Regions from separate parts of the Homo sapiens genome. Here all the other regions are linked to region 1. Evidence: promoter capture Hi-C in 16 types of primary human blood cells and fetal thymus (Javierre and others, 2016). All regions are on one chromosome and are shown on one strand. Each heading gives the region's core, a stretch centred on a gene start or on the middle of the fragment in contact. The rest is flanking DNA. Distances are from core to core; before and after follow the strand shown. Region 1 holds the start of DNAJC10 (DnaJ heat shock protein family (Hsp40) member C10). Region 2 holds the start of ATF2 (activating transcription factor 2). Region 3 holds the start of OSGEPL1-AS1 (OSGEPL1 antisense RNA 1). Region 4 holds the start of WDR75 (WD repeat domain 75). Region 5 holds the start of LNPK (lunapark, ER junction formation factor).

Region 1 (2,629 bases), core at 59-2,558:
GCCAGGATGATCTAAAATACAATCTCAGTCTCTTTTTTAAAAGCTTCCTCATCACCTAAGAGATAGAAATCTATGTCTTCATCTTGGTATAAAAACCTGTCTGTGATCTGGTCCCTGCTTCATCTTCCAGTTTTCTGTTTGTTTTTCAATTTACTTTAAGATTTTGTTACAGTGTGTAACAAAATGGTTACACACTGTGTCATAATGCTTAACATCATAGTCTCTGAAGCCAGGTTGCTTAGATGTGAATCCTAGCTCTCAAATATTTGCCTCAGTTTCCTCAAATGGGAAATAGATATAGGAGCCACTATCTTGTAAGATTATTTGGAGGACTAAATGAGTTACTACATGTGTGCTTAGACCAGTTCCTGAGACATATTAACTACTATTACATCAGGCTGCTTCTAATGTTTGCCTTTGTTCATTCTACTTCCTCTTCTTTCCTACCAAGTATTAGCTTAGCCATAGATCCTGTGTAGTTTTCCAAGTTTTTAGAAGCTGACACTTGATTTACTCCCCGAAACTGTTACCAATCACAACTTATTTCATGTTAGGGTTGATGTTATAAGCAGGTATCCTCTAGGCTCGGTTTTCTCTTTTAAATATAGAAAATGTAGTAAATATAACCACTTCAATTGTTATATTGCTGTGGGACAAAATGCAGTTCCTGTACCATAGCAGTAGGAGATCAAGGTAAGAGAGAACAACGATAACTCCCCAGTTTCTAGCTTGTATGACTCAGAATCCAGAAAATATTGTAGAAGTCTCAAATGCTTGTTGATACACACGCTTACACAAAATTGTAAATGTTTTAATTTCCTTCAAGTTTCCTACTGCCTCTTCAGTCCGCTAGCCTGATACTGCAATCAGTGTCGCTTCAGGCAACTTCTCCTTTCTCCGCCAAATTTCGCCTTTCGGTCTCACCCACCCATCACCCAGACAAATCCTCCAAAGCTCCGTCTTCCCTTTAAAAGACTCTCAGGGAACTCAACCCCAAAACCCACCCTCTGGGTTTCCCCGTCACCCTGGCAACGGAAGCAGGAAGAGGCGGGCTTCGCCATCCACCCTCCCCGCCCGCGGCAGGCGCCGGCCGCATTGGTGAGGGGGCGCGGGCTGCTTGGCCAGGGCAGTTCCCTCAGCTCCGGGTTGGAGCCGGAGCCGGAGCCGGATCCCGCGCACACCGCCACGTCAACCTAAACCTACACCGCCCTCTCCACCCCACCGCCGCAGCGCCCGCTGGGCCCGCAGCGGGTCTCCCCAGGCAGCGTCCTCCACGCCTTTCCCACAATGCTCCGCGCCAGGCCCCGCCCCGGCTCGCCGTGGAGACCGGCGCGTGAGGAACCTACCGGTACCGGCCGCGCGCTGGTAGTCGCCGGTGTGGCTGCACCTCACCAATCCCGTGCGCCGCGGCTGGGCCGTCGGAGAGTGCGTGTGCTTCTCTCCTGCACGCGGTGCTTGGGCTCGGCCAGGCGGGGTCCGCCGCCAGGGTTTGAGGATGGGGGAGTAGCTACAGGAAGCGACCCCGCGATGGCAAGGTGGGCATGGGCCCGGGGCTAGGGCTTTGCTGGAGCCGGTGGTGGCCTGGGCCCTCCGGTCAGGGAGGGGCGGAATGGCTGAGCGCCTGAACCTCCCTTCCTGTGCGCTCTTAAGACCTGGATATTGTGTTCTCGCTCCCCACCTTCCTCCTCCCTGTTATTCACACCACCCTTCCTCTGCCCAGCGATTCCCTCTCAGTTACTTACACTTTCTCCCTAAGTCCGACCTGAGACTTCAGACACCAGCAACACTTAACAGCCCTGTTCCCCCGTGTCTTCATCTTTACCCCTCTCCCCTCTCCCACTCTGCAGTGATGGCAATGCGAAAGCTTGCGCCTTGCATTTACCTGGCGCTTCCACCTGCCCGGTAGCTCGGGCCACGGGCAGTTCGGCCACACCCACGCTGAGAACAACCCCTGGGCGAGAAACATCTTATCCCAAAGTGTTGATTGAGACTATGCCCTCTCTTTTTCTGATGGTTGTTTTCTTGTTTGGATACTTGTTAATCTCTACATCATTATATTTTTCAAAGGTATATTTTTGTGGAATGAAAAGGAAGTATTAGAAATGAGCTGAAGACCATTCACAGGTAAAGAGAAAAATTTTTAAATATACATTTAGGATTAAATGAAAAACAGAAATGAGGTGCGAGGAGCGTTAGATTTTTCAAAGCATTACGATCTCTTTGGAACTAAAATATAGTGGTTGAAATGTGATATGATGAAGTAATGATTGTTTTTGCCCTGCAGAGAGTATGTCTAAATAACCGATTCCCTTCTCTTTTTGTGTTTTGTTTCTACTTACACCAAACATGAACTTTGCAATAAAATTACACTGGTAACTTACAATTGTTTTTCTACTATTTTTAAAAAATGGCCTCTACTTAAATTCAGTATAAGCACCTTCTGAGGAAACTCCGGGAAGAAGATCGACTGCTGTGTAGATTGTCTATTATAACAATATATTTCACTGTCATTTCTGGTAGGGTTATATGAGAAGTAAAAAACCCTATGTTTCCTTCTAGTCCCTCCCAAGGACATTTCCTACAAGTGAATTCTGCTGAAAATGAAAATTAGACAGCTTTAGGAGGTAAA
Region 2 (2,629 bases), core at 72-2,571, 7.5 Mb before region 1:
ATAATTTAGGGATTAGTCAATCCCTTAGTACCAGTTAAATAATAGCCAGGAAAGCATTAGAAAACCTGAAGGTACATGTAAAGAAATGCTTTACATCACTATTTAAAATAGGTGTTGAATTTTAAGAGAAACATTTCTTTCACTAAAATTTCTGATGCCTAAGGTCCATCAGGAGTAATCTCTTTTACTCCATGATATTCACAGTAGTTTTGCTCTTGGCCTCACCAGTTTTAAGACTCTCCATTAAAGAAAGCCAATTTTATACTACCTAGGGGCACAAAAATAGTTCCCAGCTCCTCCTCTCTTTTTCCTCCTAGGTTCGGTTAAACGAGCGAACATAGAAAACACGTACACACACTCCCTTTCGGCCCTGGTCCCTAGGGCATTGATGAAAAGCAAATTATTTCTTTACATACGCTCTGCTGTCCACCCAGAGATTTAAAAAAAAAAAAATAAGGGAAAATACCAGAATCAGTCTGCACCCACACCTAAGCCCCGCCCCACCGGGAAAAAGCTGGGGGTAGCGGGATTGTGAGGGTGGCGGAAAGGACGGAAAAGGCCGAGACTTCCAGCTCCTAGGTTCTCCACACCATTCTTTCCTTCAAGCTGCACCGCAGCCAGGGACCCTGATTCTATTTTCAGCCGCGCCTCCCGATCCTCCTCCCCGCCACCATCACCAATACACGGTCCTCAATCGCTTGAATACTGGGTGGGGAGACCAGAGTGGGCCCTCTCCCCGCCCAACCCAAGGACTGTGGGTGGGAGAGGTCTCCCTGCGCACACGGCTGACTCGACGCGCGCCCCGAGGACCTCTGAACTGACCCAAGTAGGGTGAAGATAATTCGGAGGGAGGGGTCTAAGAGGGAGCCGTTATTCCTTTTTCCTCTGCCTTAGGAAAGCGCGCGAGAGGGAGGGGCCGGAACAACGAACGCTGGTTACCTAACGGTCCGGCCCAGCCAGTCAGGTTCCCAAAGCCCACACCGCGCGGGCCGCCGAGGTGGCAGCACAGCCACAATCGCCCCAAGGGCTAAGGAGCACGTCAGGAGCACCCGAGGTGATGGGAAACGGGGGGTGGGGACTGTGCTGAGCGACGTCGCCATGTTAGCGCCTTCTTTCTCCGTATCCCTACAGTCTCCAGCCCTGCTGACCTCTGCCCATCGTTACTCACCTTTCCAGGTCACTAGTTCATGATCCTTTCGGTCACCCGCGAGCCCTGAGCACAGCCGTGTTTACAAAGCACCCCTGGAGGAAAAGGCTGAACGGCACTTTAAAGGCCACGGGCTCCCACAGGCTTCCGTCCTCTCTCGCGAGATCGGACTGACAACCCCCGCCCGCTCGCCCCGCTCCCGGCATCCCCACCTTCCTTCTGGCGCCCCTCCCCTTCACCCACACGCCCCTTCTTGCCTTCCTTCTGAGGGAGCGCCTCCGAGTCAGGTGATTCCGTCAGGCTTAAGGAGAAGAAGGCGGGTCTTCGGCAGGGCGGGTAGAGGGGACGGGCATCAAAGAGCACTCGGGCGCTCATGATTGGACAAGGAGCCCGAAGGGCGGGAAGCAGTTCTGGAGGGGGCGGGACCAGAGGGCCCAAGGAGCGTTACTTCTGTAAACCCGGAGCTGTGGAAGACTGTGATTGGCTGTCGGCTGGAGGAGGGCGCGGGTGCAGGCGGCGGTGAAGGGCTAGGCAGGGCTTTGGCGGTGTGAGGGGAGGAAAGGTGGTGAGCTCCGGAAAGGCTGCTAGAGGGAAAGCAGGATGGGTCCTCCGAGCCCAGCCCCAGGAGCCGGGTGTCTCCGTTTCCGTCACTTCCCAGCACTAGGTAGGGAGGTGGGTAAAAGTAGGCTGCGTTCCTCAGCCCACCCCTTGGCTCCCCGGGAGCCTGAGGCGGGGAGCTTCGGGTTAGGTGAGGTTTGGGGGAGGCGGAGTTTGCTGGTAATTGCCCATCCCTCCCCTCCAAAAAACCCCACACAACTTAAAGATTTTAATATTAACTGTAAGGATGTTGGTTATTCAATAAATAGGCACAAGTTGAAAAGTATGATCAGAGGCCTCTGTGAGAATTTACATTATTCAATAAAAGATTTTCAGTGTCTTATTTTTTCCATTTATTAAATACTGATTTCTAGTCTGGAACAAAATTATGAACTAGTTTATATATTAACATAAAATACACTCTCAAAATTGTTGAAAGGTTTTGGGGGATAGTATGAGAGTTAATGAGCCTGAAGTTCAAGAATGATATCTGGCATAAAAGTGAAATTGTAATGGCATTGACATTTTAACAGGTAGGTCTCTGGACCGCATACATGTGTATAAGCCAACTCAGTCCTCTTTTAAAACTAATTTTAGTTAAGAAACATTAAGCCAAATTATTAACACTTTCCTACTTAAAATGAAAGTACCGTCCCCATATAGTAACAGTAATGTAGTAGTGCCATTGTAGTGTAACACTAATTATGTCAGCAAAACCTCACAGTTCAGATTACTCATGATGGAAATGGTGGACAAAATGTTTGATTGACATCACAATTGTTAGGTCTAGAACGCATTGATTAAATAGATGCTTCTCTCTCCATCTCCCAAAACAACTAATGTGAGAAAAAGAACTGCAAATGTTACGACATTTCAAAAGAAGTT
Region 3 (2,629 bases), core at 84-2,583, 7.0 Mb after region 1:
ATTGCTTCTCCCAACACATTTCCAGTTTCATCCACCACAGCAGCTGCTGTATCATCACAACTAGTTTCAATTCCCAATACTATTTTATGAAGAAATAGTGTTCCAGGATGAAAATTAAAACTTCTTAAAAATTCATAAACTTTCCTTTTTGATGGTTTAAAAAAAACTCCTGCAGTCTTAGTCAAGATTAGCATACTTACTCTATAGATAATTCCTGAAAAAGAATTACAGAAACAACTTATTATTTGCAACTGACATTAGCCAGCTTATTTTTCAATATATAGTTTTACAGAATTACAGGAAAGTTTGTAAAAGTCACCAAAAGTTTGTAAAGGCTATAGCAACATGGGAATATAAATAATATTATGAATGAATATAATGTTCTCCAAGGGGGAAAACAGGGGTCAGATATAAAATTTTTTAGTATTATTATTACTTGCATGCTGTTCCTACCAAAAGACTTACTATTAAGACAGCTAATATAAAGTACAATAATTGATAGAGTCCTCTGAAAAGTGCTATTTATTTTTTGACAGCTAAAATTAAGACAAAATGTGGATTTTCTAAAAAGAATCAAACAACAAAGGCAGATGGAACAGATAAAAATACTGTTAATGTATTCCATCTCCTAAAAACATCTTTCAAAATAAAACTGGATCATTTGGTTCAAAAACAAGAGTTAACATAAACACACACACGCCAACTGCAACCTAACACCTATTTTATCCTTAATTGCAATCTTTGGAATTAAATCTCCACTTTTTGCTACAGGTTTTGTCATAACAAGGATCTTCCCAAATCCTTTTCCCCCAAAATAATAGCAGCCCATCACTAAAGCACACTAGTATTTTCACACTGCGAAGCACCTAATTTTATGCCCCCAGATCATCCGTTCTAAAACTTTCTGGGTGTTAAAGCAGGGCCTTTCTCCACCACACTAAAGGGACACGGCATCCCAGGGATTAGAGATGAGCGACCTATTTGCAGAAGGCAGTTGCGGGCAGTGCAGCCCAGACAGACACAACCTAGAGGAATTAGATTTGCATTAACAAAATCTGGACAAGGAGGATTGTACGAAGCACTACCCTTTCGGGCCAAGAAAGCTGCAGGCTGAACCCACGTGACTTGGGTAGCGCTGGTCTCCTGTCGGCTGTAAGGCGGCGACGGGCGCAAACTGGAACCGCTTTTCCAGGTGCGCAAAAGCGTCAGTGGGGTGAAGAGTGAGCAATTTCACCCACCTTCCACTTGGGCGGCAGTAGCTAGCACTTGTCTCCTTTCCCTACTAAAGACTGTCGACTGCCCTTATCGCTGCAGGAGAAAGCCCGAACCTGGCGCCCGGAAGTGATGTCATCGGAACTGTGCAAGGTCCCGTCCAGAGCTGGCTGCTGTTCCGCTAGCGAGCGGCATGCTTAGTGAAGAAAAGCTTAAAGGCCGTCTTTGCCCAAAACGCTCTCTGTGCGCACCTGCATTTCCCCCAGATTTGCAGGTGATGAGAGTTCTGTAAAATTACACAGCTAGTGACTGATCCAGCGGAGGCCGAATACAGGTTTGTCTGACTACACAACATCAAGTTCCAAACACTAAGCTACATTAAAAAGAAATTTTTTTTTTGCCCTTGGCTGGAATTTGGTTGCTACTGTGAGAAAAGGATGGGGTAGATTATTCGTCATTCATTTTTAAGGGAACTATCATCAAATCTAAACTTAGGGGTGAGGTACCTGATACTTTCATCGGAGAAATAGGATGGAATCTAGCGGCGCCCCCTAGCAGGGTTACCAAAGAACGGAAGTGTTTCTCATCGGACAGTGTAAACCGTTTCTCCCACTTCACTAGGAAGAAAGGGGCTGGCTTATTTTTACAATTAAAAAAAAAAAAAATCGGGAGACTGAGGCAGGAGAACTGCTTGAACTGGGACCCGGGAGGCGGAGGTAGCAGTGAGCCGAGATCGCGCCACTGCACTCCAGCCTGAGCTACAGAGCGAGACTCTGTCTCAAAAAAAAAAAAAAAAAAAAAAAAAAGGCTGTGGTAAATATTCAGTTGCCTTAAACCATCCTATTTTCATAATGCATTATGTTGTCCTTCCTTACTATGTACATGAAATTCAGCATGGTATGTTTTCAAAGTCTTGCACCTGCTTTTTTTTTTTTTTTTCTTTTATTGGTTTGTGAACTTTGTTTTGAACATTGGACAGATTTATTCCAAGAGTCAGGCTTTTCCCCTGCTGGTATTTAAGATTTTAGTAAGCAAGGACCTTAGAATCCACTGTTGTACAGGGCTGGCATATATACCTGCACTTTGCACGTTGTGAAGCTCTGGGTATAAAAGATGAGTAAATCCCATAACAACATGTTGGGAAGCCACAGAGTACAGTCTAGAGGTGGATACAGATAAATAAGTAAATAATTACCAGAATATGGTTGAGGTTTTTTATTTGGAACTTATGTTTTTCAAAAATTTCATTTATGTGTAACAATAATGATAAAGTGGCACTATGTACCAGGCACCTGCTGTAGATTAATTTCTTTCAAAATCCCATGAAATAGTTTCTGTCCTCATTTTACAGGCAACTGGGCCACAGAGTTTGGGTGCTTTGGAGGTCACACAACTAGGAAAAGCAAAGCTAGGATTA
Region 4 (2,629 bases), core at 96-2,595, 6.7 Mb after region 1:
AATAAGCTAGACTCCTCAGTAAAAAGTAAATTTATCCCTGATTTTTACAGTGGTGCTGTCCCAGGATATGTCTTGACCTTTGTGAATATTGTATTTCTCCACCATAAATAAACTTATAGGTATAATCATGTGTGGCTTAATGATGGGGATATGTTCTAAGAAATGCATTTTAGGTGATTTCATCATTGTGTGAATATCACAGAGTGTACCTACACAAACCTAGATGGTACAGCCTACTACACACCTAGGCTGTACGTTATAGCTGATTGCTCCTAGGCTACAAATCTGAACAACATGTTACTGTACTCAATATTGCAGGCAATTGTAACAGAATAGTATTTGTGTATTTAAACACATAAAAGGTACAGTAAAAACACAGTATTATAATCTTACGGAATCACCATGTTATATGCATTGATTGAAAGATCCTTATGTGACATGTGACTATATTTGAGACCTTGGTAATTTTGTGGTAAATCCACAAATCAAGAAGCGAAATCAAAATAGGCAACATAATATACAGGGTCCAAGAATATGATACGTGTAAGTTTACAAAGGAAAACTGGAGATAAACTGGCAAAAATAAACATGTTGAGATTTTAGGGGTTCCTAACCCACAGATTCTATTCACTAATGGGAAAAGGTAAAACTCAGGAAACCAGAGACCAGCGCCCTGAAACCTGGCGGGACTGGCCGAATGTCAGATTAGCCCGAGCAGCTACACTGAACGCTGCGGAAGATGCACCAGAATCCCGGAGTAGGAGCCAGATTTCCAAAGGAAGAAAGCTAGGCCCTAGGACTGTGGAGATTCTGTAGTAACCTAAGCGATGTTCACAAGAACAGAAGAACGGCTAATGAGAGGAACAAAAAGCTGTACAAGGAAGAGAAAGCTACCTTTCCACCCAATAACTCAACGCTGCGACCGAGAAAACCAGGGACGCGAGAGGCTCGCGTCATCCTGCAGCGCCGACACCACAGACACTAGAAAGCGACGCCTCCGGTGGGACGACTGGAGGTCACGTGGTACACTATACGCCACCTTTCCCTTCTGGCGGAAAAAGCCATAGAGTCAGGTTGACAAGGCCTGAGAGAAATATGTCTGTATTAAATAATTGTGTATAGGTATATAATAAAAACTGATTGTCTCTAAATCTCTGTTTTGCTTTCACCTTTTCTTACAAGTGTCTTAGTTTGACATTGCCCACACAAAAGGTGCCTGCACGGAAGCGGAGTCCTACCACCGAGTCTCAGGCCTAGAAGGGCCCGGGGGTGGGTTCTGTGGGCTGGGAACAGCCTTATTACCCGGCTCAACGAAGGAAGTTCAGGGCGGGACCAGAGATTGGCCATTCCGCTACTGCGCAAAGATGGTGGAGGAGGAGAACATCCGCGTGGTTCGTTGTGGCGGCAGCGAGTTGAACTTTAGGAGAGCTGTGTTCTCTGCAGATTCTAAGTATGAGGGGCACCGCGCTTTGTCGGCTGAGGGGCGGGGCGTGAGTTTCTCGAGGGTCGGGGAGAAGGAATTGTCAGTCGCGTTCGGACTCGCCCGCCTGGCGGATATCGGCTTTGGGTAGAGCACGCGCCTGTGGGGGATCCCCAGGGTACCTGGGAGGTCCCGTTACCACTGCAGATTGGGTTGCGTCCCCCGATTCCTGGACAGTTTACCTGCAGGTAGATAAAGGCCCTGGAGCCGGTCTCCGTGTCGAGGATCTGGAAGGTGTTCGGGCGGCTGGAAAATGGTCCAGGGGTGGATGTGTATGCCACTACCTTTGCAGTACCTACTCTTTCGTACAGAATCATGTTTTGGAGTGACTAAAACCTAAAACTATTCCGCTTTTTCTACCCACTCCTCACTCCTGAAGCATAGTGCATGAAGCATAGTGCAGTCTTTTCGGAACTTTACATGAAAACAGATGTTAGATTCTTTATGAGATAAAAATACGCTAAGACTTGGTCTCTTTTCTCAGTGTAGCTGGAAACCAAACCACTCCCTGGCTTCAAAATCCACTTCTTACATTATGAAACCTTTGTAAGTTTCTTAATCTTTGCCTCAGTTGCCATCATCTGTAAAGGGGGACAATATTTAGTTCATCTCACGTGGTTATTGGGAGGATTAAATGCCTCAATATGTTAAAACTACAGACAACAATGCCCGGCACATAATGGCTCAATGTATGTAGCTGTAATCATTATTACTGTATTGTCAGGTTTTCAAATAACTTTAGGTAGGGTGGCACTTAATAAAATCAAAAAACCCTTTCTGCCTTAGAAGAGTAGAGATAGTATTTTATGAAAGTTTGTAGCCTCCACAATATTCTTTTTTTTTTTTTTTTTTTTTTTTTTGATGCAGAATCTCACTCTGTCACCCAGGCTGGAGTGCAGTGGCTCAATCTAGGCTCATTGCAACCTCCGCCTCCCTGGTTCAAGCAATTCTGGTGCCTCGGCCTCCTGAGTAGCAAGTATTATAAGCGCGGGCCACCACGCCCGCTAATTTTTGTATTTTTAGTAGAGAGAGGGTTTCGCCATGTTGGCCAGGCTGCCCTGGAACTCCTGGCCTCAAGTGATCTGCCCACCTGAACCTCCCAAAGTGCAGCGATTACAGTGAGCAACTGTGCCCGGCCCACCCCCACAA
Region 5 (2,629 bases), core at 62-2,561, 6.7 Mb before region 1:
ACTATTTGATTATAAATGTTTCTATGTGAAGTCATATATTTTTAATAGCCATATAACTTCTCCTTTTCTTGTATTTTCTTGTTTATATAACATATAAACACTATATAAGTTTACTAACATCATTACTGAGCTGATCTCAATAGATAACAGACAACCTTAAAATTCTAATTTAAACGCACCACTCCTGTTTAAGAAAATGTGTTAAAAGTCAACTTGGTCTTCTGGGGGCTGCTGAGGAAAAGAAATGAGCATTCCCTGCCAGTTTGAACATATTCCTGAAACCAAGCTTACTCACACCCACCAAACCGCTGTTGAATAGAGTCAATTTTGTCAATGCTGACACCCAGGCCATAAAGAAAGGAGGAAACAGTAGACACCGAGCAACACACACCGGAGGCCAACTGGGAAAAGCAGAACACGGAAAACTCAGTGATTCACGGGTCTTGCTTAGTACTGTGAAAGCACCATCAGCAAAGCTGAGTTGACCAATTTCAACTCTTTCTCAATCCGTAAACTATGAACTGACGGAATTTAGATTTGTTTTTCTCCTCCTACCACGCCTCTGATACAATGCACCTTCGCCCTTCCCCTCCACCCCACAGCCCACCATCCCTGAAATAAGGACAATGGTTGGAGAGTCTCTTCTCTAAGTAGCACGTACTCCACGCCCACACGCTAGAGCCCGGCAGCATGACACTGACAGTTTTCAGTCCCTTCTGGTCTTTCTAACTCTTGGAGCCTCCGCACAACTCAGAAAGAGAAGCGGAGAGAACGCTCAAAGCGGACAGCTGAGCGTAGGAAATGCTAGTTTGGGACCTTCTGACCTCTTTGCCCCACCTGTGTCGAGATAAGCTCGACACAAGTGGGCCAAAGAGCTGGGGCTCAAGCCAGTCACCACCCGGAATCTCCTAGAACCGAGCTGGAGAAACTACCAGCCCTAGAGGGGAAACAAGGGTTTCAAGACTCCAGCGCCACCACTGCCAGTGTGCTGGGAAATCCAGGGAACAAGGCGGCGAGCCTGGGTCTGCGCGGACCACCGCGCAGCCTGACTAGCAGCCGCCGCAGAGCTCTAGGCCACTTGGCAGGAGGCGGGGGCACCAAGGAGAGGCAAGCGGGGAACCCGCAGCTTATTTCCCAGGGGCACAGCTCAGCATGCCTCCCCGCTGCAGAGCCCTCCCAACTGCCCTCGCCTTGAGCGTTCTACCTGCAAGAAGCGGGCGCAGCCCGGCCCGGGCGTCCACCCCCGCCAGTCTCGGCCGCCACCGCCCAGCCTGCCTCCAGAGCAGGCAGCAGCCGCCACTGACAGAGAGACAAGCCGGGCCAACTCCTTCCCATGAAACCCCGCGCTCCAGCCGCTCGCCAATTGGCGCCGCGGTCGGCGCGCGCCGCTCCCCCGTCACGTGACCGTACCCTGGGCGGGTAGTTGTTGGGGCGGGTCGGCCGGGAGGTTAGGATCTTGTGTTTGTGGCCTCCGCAGCCAGCTTAGGCTGCTCGGTGTCGTGTCGCAGTTATGTACTGCCATTTATTATGACTCTTAGAATATAGTTATTTCTTACTCTTCCGCTGCCTCCTTTGCTTTTAAAGCCTGTTCTGCCAAGTCTCGCTGGAGAAGGAAACCCCTGAAACTGGTCCTGGTGGTCTCAGACCGCCGCGCGAGCGAAGAGTGGGGAGGACAAAGGTTGGGGAGTTGAGAAGGATGGAGATGGGTGCATCTGGAAGGGAGTCCGTCCTGAGGAGTCCCCCATCAGCTGTCAGCCAGCCAGCAGCAAAGCAAATTAAGACTACACAGCTCCGAAGAAGCCAGTTCCCAACCAAGCCAGTGGAGAAAAGTCAGCCCGGTCCCCAGGAGTGCTTGAGGCTCTGTCACTCTTGGACGTCAAAAAGGGTCATTTGATGACTGGACGCTTACCTCACCGGTGTGAGGTAAGCTTCAAACGCCGTATCATGTTGCTTTAAAACCTGCGGGTAACAGCATAAGCTGAGTTTTCTATCTTAGAACTCTTAACCCCAAGAACACTCTTCACAGGCCCTGATAGGTGGACCCACAAAAAAACCACTCAGGCTATATTTGACTCGGATTTGAAACGCTGCCGAAACGGTATTAAGTGTCCTCCTCAACTGGAAAAGACAAATAACAAATGATGCCTGAATGAGAAAAAGACTAGACGTGCACACAGTAATGTGTGAGCAGGGAAACTTCAGCGAAGGTTTTTATCATGCTTTACCCCTTTTACATGCTTTACCCCATGTGCAAACATTTTTCATGGGTTTTTTTCTATTTTTTATTTATTTTTATTCTATTTTTTTATTTATACACAAAAAAGTTTCAATGATTTTTTAAAGAGTAATAGTTTTAATATGTTACATTTAAACTTTGACGATGCAAACAGGTTGTCAAGAGAAGCAACTGAGCATTGTTTGGTTGGTAAGAAAATTTATTATACTAGAAGCTACCGCATAATTCACTGTGCAATTTGCTTGCCCTAATTGCCTAAATATTTAGTTACAGTTCTGTACACTTGCAAGGATGAGGGGAAGGGAACTGAAGTTTAGCGTGTCACTGTGGATCAGGCACTTTCCAAATGTAGAAGAAAATGAACAGAAACATTTCACCTGTTTTGATGTGGAA

Evidence for each region. Contacts are between HindIII fragments. The CHiCAGO score rates a contact against its expected background, and 5 or more counts as called.
Region 2: a contact is called between the fragment with the promoter of ATF2 here and the fragment with the promoter of DNAJC10 in region 1, in 3 of 17 cell types (activated CD4 T cells, naive B cells and non-activated CD4 T cells). The highest score is 7.1, in activated CD4 T cells.
Region 3: a contact is called between the fragment with the promoter of OSGEPL1-AS1 here and the fragment with the promoter of DNAJC10 in region 1, in 1 of 17 cell types (fetal thymus). The highest score is 5.5, in fetal thymus.
Region 4: the fragment with the promoter of WDR75 here is called in contact with the fragment with the promoter of DNAJC10 in region 1 in 3 of 17 cell types (total B cells, naive B cells and total CD4 T cells); the score reaches 14.3 in total B cells.
Region 5: the fragment with the promoter of LNPK here is called in contact with the fragment with the promoter of DNAJC10 in region 1 in 1 of 17 cell types (non-activated CD4 T cells); the score reaches 11.6 in non-activated CD4 T cells.

Annotation. Positions count from the first base shown.
Region 1 is chr2:182,714,949-182,717,577 of GRCh38, forward strand. It overlaps DNAJC10 (DnaJ heat shock protein family (Hsp40) member C10), which reads left to right and starts at 1,309. Exons shown (of 24, transcript NM_018981.4): 1 at 1,309-1,535; 2 at 2,068-2,124. It also overlaps a transcript of PDE1A not described here. RefSeq lists enhancers at 792-941, 962-1,031, 1,376-1,980 and a silencer at 1,542-1,701. The HindIII fragment of the contact is 1,821 bases long and covers 42-1,862 here.
Region 2 is chr2:175,166,882-175,169,510 of GRCh38, forward strand. ATF2 (activating transcription factor 2) reads right to left here and starts at 1,322. Exons shown (of 14, transcript NM_001880.4): 1 at 1,169-1,322. MIR933 (microRNA 933) reads right to left here and starts at 828; the gene lies at 752-828. RefSeq lists a silencer at 1,271-1,340. The HindIII fragment of the contact is 6,773 bases long and covers 1-2,629 here.
Region 3 is chr2:189,761,447-189,764,075 of GRCh38, forward strand. OSGEPL1-AS1 (OSGEPL1 antisense RNA 1) reads left to right here and starts at 1,334. Exons shown (of 2, transcript NR_102429.1): 1 at 1,334-1,546. OSGEPL1 (O-sialoglycoprotein endopeptidase like 1) reads right to left here and starts at 1,346. Exons shown (of 9, transcript NM_022353.3): 1 at 1,239-1,346; 2 at 1-214. The coding sequence starts at 194. It also overlaps a transcript of ANKAR not described here and a transcript of ORMDL1 not described here. RefSeq lists enhancers at 829-988, 1,275-2,021. The HindIII fragment of the contact is 3,776 bases long and covers 1-1,421 here.
Region 4 is chr2:189,440,129-189,442,757 of GRCh38, forward strand. WDR75 (WD repeat domain 75) reads left to right here and starts at 1,346. Exons shown (of 21, transcript NM_032168.3): 1 at 1,346-1,450. The coding sequence starts at 1,365. It also overlaps a transcript of COL5A2 not described here. RefSeq lists enhancers at 212-910, 682-841, 862-1,081, 1,342-1,471, 1,492-1,721 and 1 more. The HindIII fragment of the contact is 5,353 bases long and covers 1-2,629 here.
Region 5 is chr2:176,000,956-176,003,584 of GRCh38, forward strand. It overlaps LNPK (lunapark, ER junction formation factor), which reads right to left and starts at 1,312. Exons shown (of 13, transcript NM_030650.3): 1 at 1,205-1,312. RefSeq lists an enhancer at 1,506-1,725. The HindIII fragment of the contact is 1,642 bases long and covers 285-1,926 here.